Linked DNA regions of Homo sapiens: region 2 is linked to region 1. Evidence: promoter capture Hi-C in 16 types of primary human blood cells and fetal thymus (Javierre and others, 2016). All regions are on one chromosome and are shown on one strand. The core of a region is centred on a gene start or on the middle of the fragment in contact, and the rest is flanking DNA. Distances in the headings are between cores, read along the strand shown. Region 1 holds the start of ALG3 (ALG3 alpha-1,3- mannosyltransferase). Region 2 holds the start of KLHL6-AS1 (KLHL6 antisense RNA 1).

Region 1 (6,660 bases), core at 3,047-5,546:
TCCCTGGGTTTTGGTGTGTGTTTGCTTCTAATGGTGTACATCTGTGACTCTTCAGGCTGAAACTACCTTCAGGGAAACTTTGCTTCTTCCCTTTCTCTGTTCCCTCTAGCTCTTACCAATTCTCCTGGGAGCACATTCTTGACAAGTAACTTGGACATGAATCCTCATCTCAGGATTTGCTTCTGGGGAACTCAATCTAAGACAATGAGTGCAGGGGTTGCCAAATGCAGCTTGCCACCTATTTTGTTAGATAAAGTTATATTGAAACATGGCTATTCTCATTCACTTTTTTTTTTTTTTTTTTTTTTTTTGAGATGGAGTTTCACCCTGTCACCCAGGCTGGAGTGCAGTGGTGAAATCTTGGCTCACTGCAACCTCCGCCTCCCTGGTTCAAGCAATTAATTCTCTTGCCTCAGCCTCTGGAGTAGCTGGGATTACAGGTGCCTGCCACCACACCTGGCTGATTTTTATGTTTTTAGTAGAGACGGGGTTTCACCATGCTGGCCAGGCTGCTCTCGAACTCCTGACCTCAGGTGACCCGCCCGCCTCGGCCTCCCAAAGTGGTGGGATTACAGGCGTGAGCCACCCTGCCCGGCCATCATTCACTTTTGTATTGTCTGTAGCTGCTTTTCCACTACAATAGCGGAACCAAGTCATTGTAAAAGAGACTGTGTAGCCTGCAAAGCCTAAAAAATTTACTTGTTTGGCCATTTTCAAACAAAGTTTACAGACCCCTAACCTGGAGTAAGTCTCTTAGTACTTTTGACTTGTCTTCAGGGGTTGTCATAAGGATTAAGTAAGTTAGAAAGGGCCCAGCACATTCTCTGGCTCTTATCAGGCACTCAACTTAAGTCTGTTGAGGTGGAATGTAACGTAGAGTATTTCCCAAGTTGTGGGTCCTGTTCTTACATCTTGGGGATTCTAGAAATTCCCCTTTTGATTTTTAGACTTCTTGCCCCTCCTATCCAGAAAAGGATAGTTCCCAGTTAAGCAGATTTTTTTTAAAGCATCAGTTTGGTGAAAAACCAGTCAAGCAGATTTTAAGGCAGTGTTACTCTGCCAATCACCAGCATAAGAATCTGCTGTGAAGCTTGTTGAACATACAGATTCCTGAGACCCACATTAGACCATCCCTGGAATTAGAATCTCACAGTGCAGTCTAGTTCCCCAGGTAATTTTGATACACACTAAAGCTTGAGAAAACAGATCTAAGGTAAATCTATAAATAAGTGCAATGGTTTAAAATCACAGATTCAAGAAAGTGTTTACTTGTGGGGAGAAGGGGTTTTAGGAGGACCACACAGAGAACCTTGAATATACTTTTCATTTTGCCAGGCATTGTTCTAGGTATCCTTCATGCTCATTTAATCAACTTAAAGCCCAATTAATAAATATGCTTATGTTTTTAAGGTTGAGAAAATGGAAGCACAGAAATTCAAGTATTTTGTCCAGGATTACACAGCCAGTATAAGCCGAGCCAAGATTCCAACATAATTCACTGCCTCTGGAGTCCAAGGTGGTTTTTTGTTTGTTTGTTTTTTGTTTTGCTTTGTTTTGAGACAGGGTCTCATTCTGTCGCCTAGGCTGGAGCCCATTGGAGCCATCACAGCTCACTGCAGCCTGGATCTCCTGGCTCAAACGATCCTCCTGCCTCAGCCTCTTGAGTAACTCGGACTATGGGCACAGGCCACCATGCCCAGCTAAGTTTTAATTTTTTTTTTTTTTGAGACAGGGTCTTACTCTGTCACCCAGGCTGGAGTGGAGTGGTGCAATCTCAGCTCACTGCAACCTCCACCTCCTGGGCTCAAGTGATTCTCCTGCCTCAGCCTCCCAAGTACCTGGGATTACAGGCACGTGCCACCACACCTGGCTGATTTTTGTATTTTTAGTAGAGACGGGGTTTCACCATGTTGGCCAGGCTTGTCTTGAACTCCTGACCTCAAATGATCCACCCGCCTTGGTCTCCCAAAGTGTTGTGATTACAAGCATAAGCCACTGCTCTGGCCTAAATTTTTTGTAGAGATGGGATCTCACTATGTTGCCCAGGCTGGTCTTGAGCTCCTGCGATCAAGTGATCCTTCCACCTTGGCCTCCCAAAGTGCTGGGATTATGAGCATGAATCATGAGGCCAGCCCAGAGTCCAAGTTCTTTTCTTTTTTTTTTTTTTTTTTTGAGACAGAGTTTTGCTCTTCTTGCACAGGCTGGAGTGCAATGGCATGATCTTGGCTCACCACAACCTCCGCCTCCCTGGTTCAAGCGATTTTCCTGCCTCAGCCTCCCAAGTAGTTGGGATTATAGGCATGCGCCACCACACCCGACTAATTTTTTGTATTTTTAGTAGAGATGGGGTTTCTCCATGTTGGTCAGGCTGATCTCGAACTCCCGACCTCAGGTGATCCGCCCGCCTTGGCCTCCCAAAGTGCTGGGATTAATGGCGTGAGCCACCGCGCCCAGCCAAGTTATTAACCACTAAATTATACTTTTTTTTCTATCCCTAGTAATGTTCTATTTCTCAAACTGAGTGGAATAGACACACACATTAGATTTGTTATTTATACCTTACATATATATTACATATACCTTTTTTATTTATTAAAGACTTCACTTAAACATACAAAGGCTTTTACAAAGAGCAAAGTAAAAACGACAATTGGAAGAAAATCTGTTGCTCATTCAAACTTTACTAGCGCCTCCAAGGCTGACACTAGGAGAGAACCTCAAGAGGTCAGCCGAACACCCCAGAGCCCTACCTTTCCTCCAGCACGTCTCCCTTTGGGGAATCGTATCACCCTGGGCGGCAATCTCCCCTCCACCCCTAGAGGGTGCTGTTCTCACTCTCTAAGGCATAGGACCAAGTTTCAGACAGGACTCTCTCTAGGTGACTCTGGCTCCCAGTGCCCAGGGGCAAAAAGAAAAGCGCTGGGCATTATTCTCGAGGTGCCTGCGCGTGCCGCCTCCGATGTGAACTCGCAGTACCATTTCTAGAACTGAATCTAAAGCTCAGAACGGGTTCATGACTTGTCCTAAGTTTTACAAGTCAATTAGCGCTAGGACTTGATCTCGGTCCTCTGAGCAATCCGGTCCCCAAGGCTGCCTGCCTCCCGAGGGTCCGGACAGGGTCTTGGGTACCCCCAACGCTCAAACTCTGAGGGACTGTCTTTCTCCAGAGGGCCCCGGGACCAACAATCTCTTACTCCTGTTAGCCTTGACTAAATACAGCCGGGACTCTGAAGGAGCTGGATCTCGCGTCCCAACGCAGGCGTCCTCCAAGAGGGATAGACAGGCGGGAGGAAAGCGGACCAGGCCAAGCCCATGCGGCGCCGGTCCTGCCAGCTCTACCTGGCGGGGCCGCGCCGGGATTACCCACCTAGCACAAGGATACGGTCCTCGGGCCGCAGCTCCGGCTCTAGGAGGGCACGGAAGGAGGAGAAGTCCCCGAACCAATCGTAGGGGGCAGAATCGGCTGCGCCTTGGTAGCGCTGATCCCAGTACTCGACTTCGCGGTACCCGCAGTTCCGCTCCGGTAACTCCGGAGGCGCCCTACCTGCCCCTGGAGAGGCCATGCTCTCAACCGCCGGGCAGCCAGAGCCGCCGGCCCTTCAGCCAATACGGAAGGCAGGATGCAGAAGGCGGGGCGCTGGTGTCTCCGCCCACCACCTGCAGTTGCTCAACACAAACACGTGGAACTTCCGTCCTTTACTAAGCGCTCTTCGAAGAATCCTCCGGCTGGGAAAACTATCGTCCAGACCCTGAATCCTCCGGCTGTACTGCCAAGTCATTTCCTAGGGCCGCACTCAAGGTGTCAGACTCACGTGGGCTCATCACTGCGTCCTCTCATATTTTCAATATGAATGACTTTTATCAGGAAATCTGAAAATTAGTGAAAGGTTCATTTTTCTCAGCATCCGGAAGGCTCGAAGGGCAGGCAGGAGGGGCGCGAACAGGGGCTTTGCCCTCCTGGAGAGACAGCATGAACACAGATGTTCCCAGCGCAGGCGAAGGAGAATGCTGGCTTCAGCGGTTGTGGGGGAGGTAGGCAGGAATGTTGCTTTTCTGGACATTCGTTCTAAATTAGCGCCTGTGTACCCAGGGCTGGGTATAAACTGAGGAGTAAGACATTGTCCCTGCTCCTATGGAGCGTGGAGTGCATCAGAGGAGACAAATGCAGAAAAATTACATTTTAGTGGAGTAAATGAAGACTGGCTACTCGGATCGGCGCTTAGCCTGGTGGGACGCCAGGCACGGGAAGCGGAACCTAAGTGTCGAAGGTTCGGGTTTCCGGGGGTGGTGGGCCCACACAAGCGGCGCACCGTTAAGATGGCGGCTGGGCTGCGGAAACGCGGCCGGTCCGGTTCCGCGGCCCAGGCAGAGGGACTCTGCAAGCAATGGCTGCAGCGCGCCTGGCAAGAGCGGCGCCTGCTGCTGCGGGAGCCGCGCTACACGCTGCTGGTGGCCGCCTGCCTCTGCCTGGCGGAGGTGGGCATCACCTTCTGGGTCATTCACAGGGTGGCATGTGAGTGCGCCGAGGGGGAGGGGAGGGGAGGGAGGGAGACCTGAACCCGCGACCCAAACTGGATCTCAGACCTGGAACTCCAAACCAGACTCTGTATCCACTCACTCGTCAATTGCGAACCCATCCATATCCCTTACCTGAGCGCCAAGCCTGCTCTACAGAAAACCGGATCTTAATCTGCCCGCATGGCAGAGGTGGATACCCTAGAGATTGGCCTTCTGCACTGAACTTACAGCCTGCAAACCAGCTTAGAAGTCAGATTTGAGCCAAAATTGTTGTACTGCTGCTGCTGCTGCTTTTCTCTGTGGCTTTGGACACCTCAGGTCTCCTCCTGGATCTCAGCTTTTTCCATGTGTTCAGTTCTGTGATCTTTGAACGTCCCTTCTCAATGATGGCATCTTGTGACCACTTGAGTCCATTAGGCATTATTGGCTACTCCTTTCCAGGCTGAAACTATACTCTAGGCTTAAGGCACTTGGCTTTCTTGCTAAAGACTCTTAATTCAACAAATATTTATTTAGTGCTTATTATATGCCTAGCATTATGCTGGTTACCAGAGAGAGGTACAGTGGTGAATAAGAGATGCATTTCTGCCGGGCGCGGTGGCTCACGCCTGTAATCCCAGCACTTTGGGAGGCCGAGGCGGGCGGATCACGAGGTCAGGAGATCGAGGCCATCCTGGCTAACACGGTGAAACCCCGTCTCTACTGAAAAAAAAAAAAAAAAAAGAATTTAGCCGGGCATGGTGGCGGGCGCCTGTAGTCCCAGCTACTCGGGAGGCTGAGGCAGGAGAATGGCGTGAACCCGGGAGGCAGAGCTTTCAGTGAGCCGAGATCACGCCACTGCACTCCAGCCTGGGCGACAGAGCAAGACTCCGTCTCAAAAAAAAAAAAAGAAAAAGGATGCATTTCTAACTCGGGCCTGGACAGTAAGTTAGCAGGCAATTATAATGCATCATAATCATGGTAGTAGTAACACAGGATACCATAAAGGGCATAGGAAGTCACTTAAACCAGGTTGGAGGAGTCAGCAAAGGCTTCATAGAGCCACCCTTGGAAGGTAGGAATTAGCTATTTAAGGAAAGAAGAAAAAGGTGAGGGGAAGGAGTGCTGTGGACAGAGGATCCTCTATTAAAAATCTCCAGCTAGGCTGGGCGCAGCGGCACACGCCTGTAATCCCAGCACTTTGGTAGGCCTAGGCGGGTGGATCTCCTGAGGTCAGGAATTTGAGACCAGCCTGGCCAACATGATGAAATCCTGTCTCTACTAAAAATACAAAAATTAGCTGGGCGTGGTGGCATATGCCTGTAATCCCAGCTACTCGGGAGGTTGAGACAGGAGAATTGCTTGAACCCGGGAGGTGGAGGTTGCAGTGAGCCGAGATTGCGCCACTGTACTCCAGCCTGGGTGACAGAGCAAGCTCCGTGTCAAAAAAAAAAAAAATTCAGTTAGACTGGGCACGGTGGCTCATGCCTGTAATCCCAGCACTTTGGGAGGCTGAGGTGGGCGGATCACTTGGGGGCAGGAGTTAAAGACCAGCCTGGCTGGGCACGGTGGCTTATGCCTGTAATTCTAGCACTTTGGGAGCCCGAGGCGGGCAGATCACCTGAGGTCAGGAGTTCAACACCAGCCTGGCCAATATGTTGACACCCTGTCTCTACTAAAATAGAAAAATTAGCTGGGCATGATGGCAAGTGCCTGTAATCCCAGCTACTTGGGAGGCTGAGATGGGAAAATGGCTCGAACCGGGGAGATGGTGGTTGCAGTGAGCTGAGATCGCACCACTGCACTCCAGCCTGGGTGGCTGAGCGAGACCCTGTCTCAAAAGAAAAACAAACAAACAAACCAGCCTGGCCAACACGGTGAAACCCCATCTCTACTAAAAATACAAAACTTAAAAAATTAGCCAAGCATGGTGGCACACACCTGTAGTCCCAGCTACTCGGGAGACTGAGGCAGGAGAATCACTTGAACCCGGGAGGCGGAGGTTGCAGTGAGCTGAGATCGTACCACTGCACTCCAGTCTGGGTGACAGAGTGAGACTCTGTCAAAAAAAAAAAAAAAAGAAGACAGCCTGGTTCCTTTGAGGAACTGAAATGATTTTTTTAGAGCTAGAGTGTAGAAATCAAGTGAAGGGAGTAGTAAGAG
Region 2 (6,660 bases), core at 2,922-5,421, 700 kb after region 1:
CCAGAGTGTCACAGCAAATAAAAAGTAGCCAAGCTGGGATTTAGACCTAGGACTGACGTTAAATCTGACACACTCTCTCGCTTTGTGTCTGAGGTTTTGAAAGGGGTTCTTCGTATGCTCAGGTTTAGGGAGGTCAAAGAGTCTCTCTGTCTGAGAGGCTTTCTTTTTTTTTTTTTTTTTTTTTTTTTGAGACGGAGTCTCGCTCTGTCGCCCAGGCTGGAGTGCAGTGGCACAATCTCTGCTCACTGCAAACTCCGCCTCCAGGGTTCAGGCCATTCTCCTGCCTCAGCCCCCTGAGTAGCTGGGACTACAGGCACCTGCCACCACGCCCGGCTAATTTTTTGTATTTTTAGTAGAGACGGGGTTTCACTGTGTTAGCCAGGATGGTCTCCATCTCCTGACCTCGAGATCCACCCGCCTCGGCCTCCCAAAGTGCTGGGATTACAGGCGTGAGCCACCGCGCCCGACCAGTCTGTGAGGCTTTCAACACAGCTCTCTGTGTTTTGGAGGGCCTGGAAGCTGGTTATAAAATTATGTCATTTTTTTCCTTTATTCACTGAGAAAATAATTACTTTCCACTAAGGGACTGACAATAGTTTATTAAACAGTCCCCTACGGACAGACATCTGGACTATTTCTAATCCACATTTTGCTATTACAAACAATGTTGTAATGAATAACCTGAAACATGAGTTTTTTTCATATGCATTTCTTGAAGGGGGTTTGCTGAGTCAAATGCATCTGCAGTCTTAGCGGTTATTGCAACTTCTCTTTCATTGGGGTTGAATCATGTTGCGTTCCCCCACGGCATCACCAAAAGAGGGTGTCATCCAACCGCTGAAGTTTTACCAATCTGATAAATGAGAAAGAATATCTCAATTTAGCTTTAATTTGCATTTTTCTTATTTTTAGTAAGATCAAACATCTCTTCGTATGTTTAAGGGGCATCTGCAGTTCTTTTTTTGTTGAACTGTCTCTTCACTGCCTTTCTGTTTTTCATGTATTTTTTTAAAATTAAATTTTATTTTTTATTAAAGATATGCAAATAGTAAACAAAGCGTTAAATAGTATTTAAAGGCTTATAATGAAAAAACAAAAATTCCTATTTCCTCCTCCACCCTGTCTCATGCGCCAAAGGCTACCACTTTCAACTTCTATTTGTTTCTTCTGGCACTAGCTCTATATTTCTGCAAAATACACTTATACTGCTCTTTCTTGATTTTTCAGTGTTAGACATCATTCACTGATTTCAAATAAGGATTTAGTATCCTTACCTAACCTCTTACCATAAGCTTTCCTTCCCTGTAATCTTTCAACATAATGTTATCACAACAAGAGTTTACATTATTATGTTCACGAAAACCTTGTTCTCTGTTGAGCCAAATTACTCAATGATCACGTTTCTTTTCTTGTAAACCTTTTGTCTTTCCTGAAGTTATTAATTCACTCATTTTTTCATTTGCTTTGTTTTGGGGTGTCTTTTGCTCACAGGCTCACAAAAATCTTTCATATGGTCCAATGCATCAAACAATCTACCAGTTCCATTTCCTCAGAATCCTCCTGCCTTGCATCATGTTACACATGTTCCCTGGATTTGCACGCTGGCTGGGATTCACCTGCTTCTCCATCATTCCCCGGGACTGTCTGCTATGTTGAATGGAGCCTTCTCCCTTCAACCCCTATCTTTCTCTTCCCTGGTTTACCATCTTACCCTGATAAGCACATTCTCCAATAACTTCCTAAGAAAGAGTGCATGGGAAGTAATTTTTTTTTTTTTTTTTTTCTGAGACAGAGTCTTGCTCTGTCGCCCAGGCTGGAGTGCAGTGGCAGTATCTCCGCTCATTGCAAGCTCCGCCTCCTGGGTTCATGCCATTCTCCTGCCTCAGCCTCCCTAGTGGCTGGGACTACAGGCGCCCGCCACCACGCCCAGCTAATTTTTTTTTATTTTTAGTACAGACAGGATTTCACCATGTTAGCCAGGATAGTTTCAATCTCCTGACCTCGTGATCCACCCACCTTGGCCTCCCAAAGTGCTGGGATTACAGGCGTGAGCCACTGCGCCCAGCCCATAGGAAGTAAATTTTTAAGGCCTCGCATATATTTTTGTTTTGTTTTGAGACAGGGTCTTGGTCTGTTGCCCAGGCTGGAGTGCAGCAGCTTGATCATGGCTCACTGCAGCCTCCCTGGGCTCAAGCAATTCTTCCACCTCAGCCCCCCAAGTAGCTGGGACCACAGGATGTACCACCATGCCCGGCTAATTTTTGTATTTTTTTAGTAGAGATAGGGTTTCACCATGTTGGCCAGGCTGGTCTGGAACTCCTGACCTCAGGTGATCCACCCACCTCCGCCTCCCAAATTGCTGGGATTACAGCTGTGAGCCACCCACCACGCCTGGCCTTTCTTTGATTTTAAATAACATTTTGATATTTCACAATGATGTGCCTTGGAGGGGTGTGTGTGTGCGTGCGTGTGTGTGTGTGTATGTGTGTTTTACTCCAACCATTATGCTATGCATTTGATGAACCCTTTTAATCTGGAGAGTCACATCCTTTAATCCTGAACATTTCCTCATATTACTGCCTGGTAATTACATGGTTACTGTTTTCCTTGTTTACTATTTCTGGATCACTTATTCAGTAGATGTGGACTTCTAGAACAGTCTCTAGCTTTCTCATCTTCTCTCTCCTGTTGTCCATCCTCTTATCTTTCTGTTTTACTTTCTGGAAGATTTTTCTCAATTTTATCTTCCAACCTGTTGAGAATCTCAGTTTTTAACTTCCAAGACTTTTTTCTTGTTTTATGTATGAAGCTTCCTTTTTATAACATCCTGTTCTTGTTTTGTATAGGTCATATTTTCACTTAATCTCTTTGAGGTTTATATTTTTTAAAAAACCACTCTTCTGTTTTTGTTTGTTTTTTACTGTTTGTTTTCACTGTATTTTTCTCTTTGTTTTTGTCTCTTTTATTCTATTTTATGTATGTATTTATTTATTTCCTAGAGACAAGGTCTCCCTATGTTGCCCAGATAGTTTCAAACTCCTGGGCTCAAGGGATCCTCCTGACCCGGCCTCCCAAAGTGCTAGGATTACAAGCATGAGCCACCACACCTGGCCTCTGTCTTTTATTTTAGAGGCTATACTTAAATATCTGGTAGTCTTTGGATATCTGTTCCTATTTAAGAGTCAAGCACTAACATGGTGAAACCCCATCTCTACTAAAAATACAAAAAATTAGCTGGGCGTGGTGGCACATGCCTGTAGTCCCAGCTACTCGGGAGGCTGAAGCAGGAGAATTGCTTGAATCTGGGAGGCGGAGGTTGCAGTGAGCCAAGATCATGCCACTGCACTCCAGCCGGGGCAACAGAGCAAGACTCAGGTGTCCCGACCTGACGAGTGCCATTCAAGTTGGATTTAGCCATGAAATAAGTTACAAAAAACTTTACATTTATCAGCACTTTGGGAATTTTGAAACTACAGATAAGGGATTATAGATATATAATGCTGAAATATTTACTATCATATTGGTTCTGATCCACAATATTGGAAAATATTAAAAGTGGAAAATATAGGGCCTGACCCTGGTGTTACAATCATTGGCTTCACTTGAGTTCTCAAGTGTACCCACTGTGGCAGCAGCAATCCTCAACACATTTGCTGTTAGCCAGATTTTTAATACAGACCTACATGGCCTTAACTCATTCTTGTTTTTCTTGGCACTTATTCTCTTTTTTAAAATTTGTTTAAATTTTACTTTAAGTTCTGGGATACATGTGCAGAATGCGCGGGTTTGTTACATAGGTATACACGTGCCATGGTGGTTTGCTGCACCTATCAACCCATCATCTAGGTTTTAGGCCCTGAATGCATTAAGTATTTTTCCTAATGCTCTCCCTCCCCTTGTCCCCCACCCGCCGACAGGCCACGGGTTGTGTTGTTCCCCTACCTGTGTCCATGTGTTCTCATTGTTCAACTCCCACTTATGAGTGAGAACATGCGGTGTTTGGTTTTCTGTTGCTGTGTTAGTTTGCTGAGAATGATGGTTTCCAGCTTCATCCATGTCCCTGCAAAGGACATGAACTCATTCCTTTTTATGGCTGCACAGTATTCCATGGTGTATATGTTCTTGGCACTTATTCTATCACCTGGGCTTTCTGACTCTTTTCTGACATCTTACCCCATTATGGAGACAAAGCTCAGGATTACAACATCTACATGTGGCTTAAGAGTAGTCTCTTGCCCCACTTTTCTGCCATGCAGTAATTGGTTAATATGTAATAATGATTAACAAGTGCATAGATTGTGCTCACAATAACCTTCCCATTCCTGGCCTTATGCCTGATTTTTGTAGCTGGCGGGTAAAGTCCTCTCAACATAGCCTCAAGGAACCAGACCTAGAGACTGCGGTACAAGACAGGAGTGAGACAGGAATCCAGACAAGGATTCCAGGCAGCAGCATCAACAAAGGAGATTGCTAATGACTCAGCCTCAGCCTGGAAGCTTTTCTATGCATGAAGGAAGGGCCAGTCATGAGACAGGGCAGAGAAAAGCCTGATAACCCCTCCCCTCATCACTAGGACTCCCCTCCCTCTGCCAACCCTGGGAATCACAGCAGGGCTGCCCTCACAGGTCACTGTCACTTACAGAGTGTGCCATATTTTGCAGTGAGCTGGGCTTCCCAAATGGTGAGAACCAGTTTCTGGTTCTAGCCACAGTGAGGTCCCATATATTTTCAGAGCGCACTGTCTTTTCACCTTGCACACCCTGACCCTGCTTCCTTGTCTCTTTTTTAACCCTTTGATCCAGACTGATGTCCTAAGGCATGCTGGGTCCTTGCTGCTATGGGGGTCTGTCAGCTCAGCCCCCAGACATAAACTGGAATGAATGTTCCAACAGTATCCTGCCTGTGCATGTGTGTATGAGCACAAGGAGGCTCTGATTTTTACATTTCCTCCTCATTTTCAGCTTATGTAGCCTACACTAGCAAAAGAGTCTTGGGGAGCTGAGGGGTCATAGGAAATGACCTGTTAGCCACATTTCTGTTCTCTGTGAAGAGGCCTGTTTTCAGTTTAGACATCATGGGGAAACCACTCTTCCCATCAAAGTGAGCTCCCCCAAGGATGAAATGGACACCATGCTATCTACTTGATATTATGAAGACTGAATGAAATAAAAAGAATCCAGCAAAGTGCCTGAAAAAATGTAGGCCGTCCATATTCCAAACTGGGAAAAAATGCTTAATGCAAAGATTACCACGTCACGTATAAAAACAAAATACTGGAAGCAACCTAAATGTCCACAGTGAGAGAATGATTTTCATATTATGCCTCTGTTGAAATTGGTAGCAATATAATAAATAGTCATTATGAAAAGCATGGAGCACCGTAGGAAAAATATTATAATGAAAACAGGGGGCAAAGCAAGATGCAAAATTGCATGTAAACTATGGAAAGATATGCATGTGAGAAAAGGTAGACAAATAACACCAAAATGAAAACTGTTAACATTATCAGAAAGCCCCATAATCCCTTACCCAAAAATCTGGGAGCCAGATGTGCTTTGCCATTCAGAATTCTTTGGATATTAGCATATCTTAAATGTTATATAGCACCTCCAGCGCTCTTTAGTCTAATGCATTAGTACTTCAGCAGTGAGTATACAAATAGTTGTCCTAAGTGGAATAAATAAAGACTCTGAGGTCGGGTGCAGTGGCTTACTCCTGTAATCCCAGCACTTTGGGAGGCTGAAGCTGGTGGATCACCTGAGGTCAAGAGTTCAAGACCAGCCTGGCCAACATGGTGAAACACCGTCTCTACTAAAAAATATAAAAATTAGCCAGGCACGGTGGCGTGTGCCTGTAGTCCCAGCTACTCAGGAGGCTGAGGCCGGAGAATCGATTGAACCCGGACGGCGGAGGTTGCAGAGAGCTGCGATCATGCCACTGCATTCCAACCTGGACGACAGAGTGAGAGATTCCGTCAAAAAAAAAAAAAAAAAAGACTTATGGCACTGGGGTTTCAGTCCGGACTCGCCACTTGTTGGCTGTGTAAATCTTGGAGGAATTGCTTGGCTCCTCTGAGGCTCAACGCCGATGTCTACAATAGAGCGAGGCTAACAATTTACGTCTACCGATCCCAGCAAGTTGTGAAACGCGAATAGTAAAATGGATTCATTTATTAATTTATTTGCCCCAACACTTTATGCGTGGTAATAAGTCAGATTTCTTGGTTCTGAGAAACAGAAATCAACTCTGGCTTATTCGAGAAGAGGAATTTATGTAAATGATAGTAGGAACTCATAAAATCCCCAAAGAAGTTTGGAGAACCAAACCCAGAAGACAAACAGGTGCAAGGGAGGCTAGACAGGGGCCAGGACCGCAGCCCGAAGCCACCCAGGACTCCTGTGGGGAGGACTTCCCTGCTGCTGTACAATGCTGGGGCCACAGCTGCACAGCTGCAGCCACTGGCACTGCTGTCAGGGCTGTCTCTGGAAGCTGGAGGCTGCTGCTGCTTGTCCTGCCTCCACCCAAGCAGGCTTTCCTCCGACTGGGCTTGTTGATATCAACGGCTTCCAATTCAAAACTATTTGCTAGGCCTGCAATATATGCAGAATAGATGTTAAAGTATCATGAAAACTACACAGTTATGAGGGGATTCCGTGACCC

The links. The method cuts DNA at HindIII sites, captures the fragments that hold promoters and counts their contacts. A CHiCAGO score of 5 or more calls a contact.
Region 2: a contact is called between the fragment with the promoter of KLHL6-AS1 here and the fragment with the promoter of ALG3 in region 1, in 2 of 17 cell types (neutrophils and naive B cells). The highest score is 5.9, in neutrophils.

What each region holds. Positions count from the first base shown.
Region 1 is chr3:184,246,598-184,253,257 of GRCh38, reverse strand. ALG3 (ALG3 alpha-1,3- mannosyltransferase) reads left to right here and starts at 4,296. Exons shown (of 9, transcript NM_005787.6): 1 at 4,296-4,513. The coding sequence starts at 4,318. EEF1AKMT4-ECE2 (EEF1AKMT4-ECE2 readthrough) reads right to left here and starts at 3,586. Exons shown (of 19, transcript NM_014693.4): 1 at 3,368-3,586. The coding sequence starts at 3,563. EEF1AKMT4 (EEF1A lysine methyltransferase 4) reads right to left here and starts at 3,586. Exons shown (of 3, transcript NM_032331.4): 1 at 3,368-3,586. The coding sequence starts at 3,563. RefSeq lists enhancers at 3,700-3,809, 3,840-3,899, 3,980-4,029, 4,228-4,971, 4,972-5,715. The HindIII fragment of the contact is 5,512 bases long and covers 1,196-6,660 here.
Region 2 is chr3:183,546,246-183,552,905 of GRCh38, reverse strand. It overlaps KLHL6-AS1 (KLHL6 antisense RNA 1), which reads right to left and starts at 4,171. Exons shown (of 2, transcript NR_046687.1): 1 at 3,943-4,171; 2 at 580-853. The region is part of intron 1 of KLHL6 (kelch like family member 6); the gene reads left to right. RefSeq lists a silencer at 171-340. The HindIII fragment of the contact is 1,687 bases long and covers 2,812-4,498 here.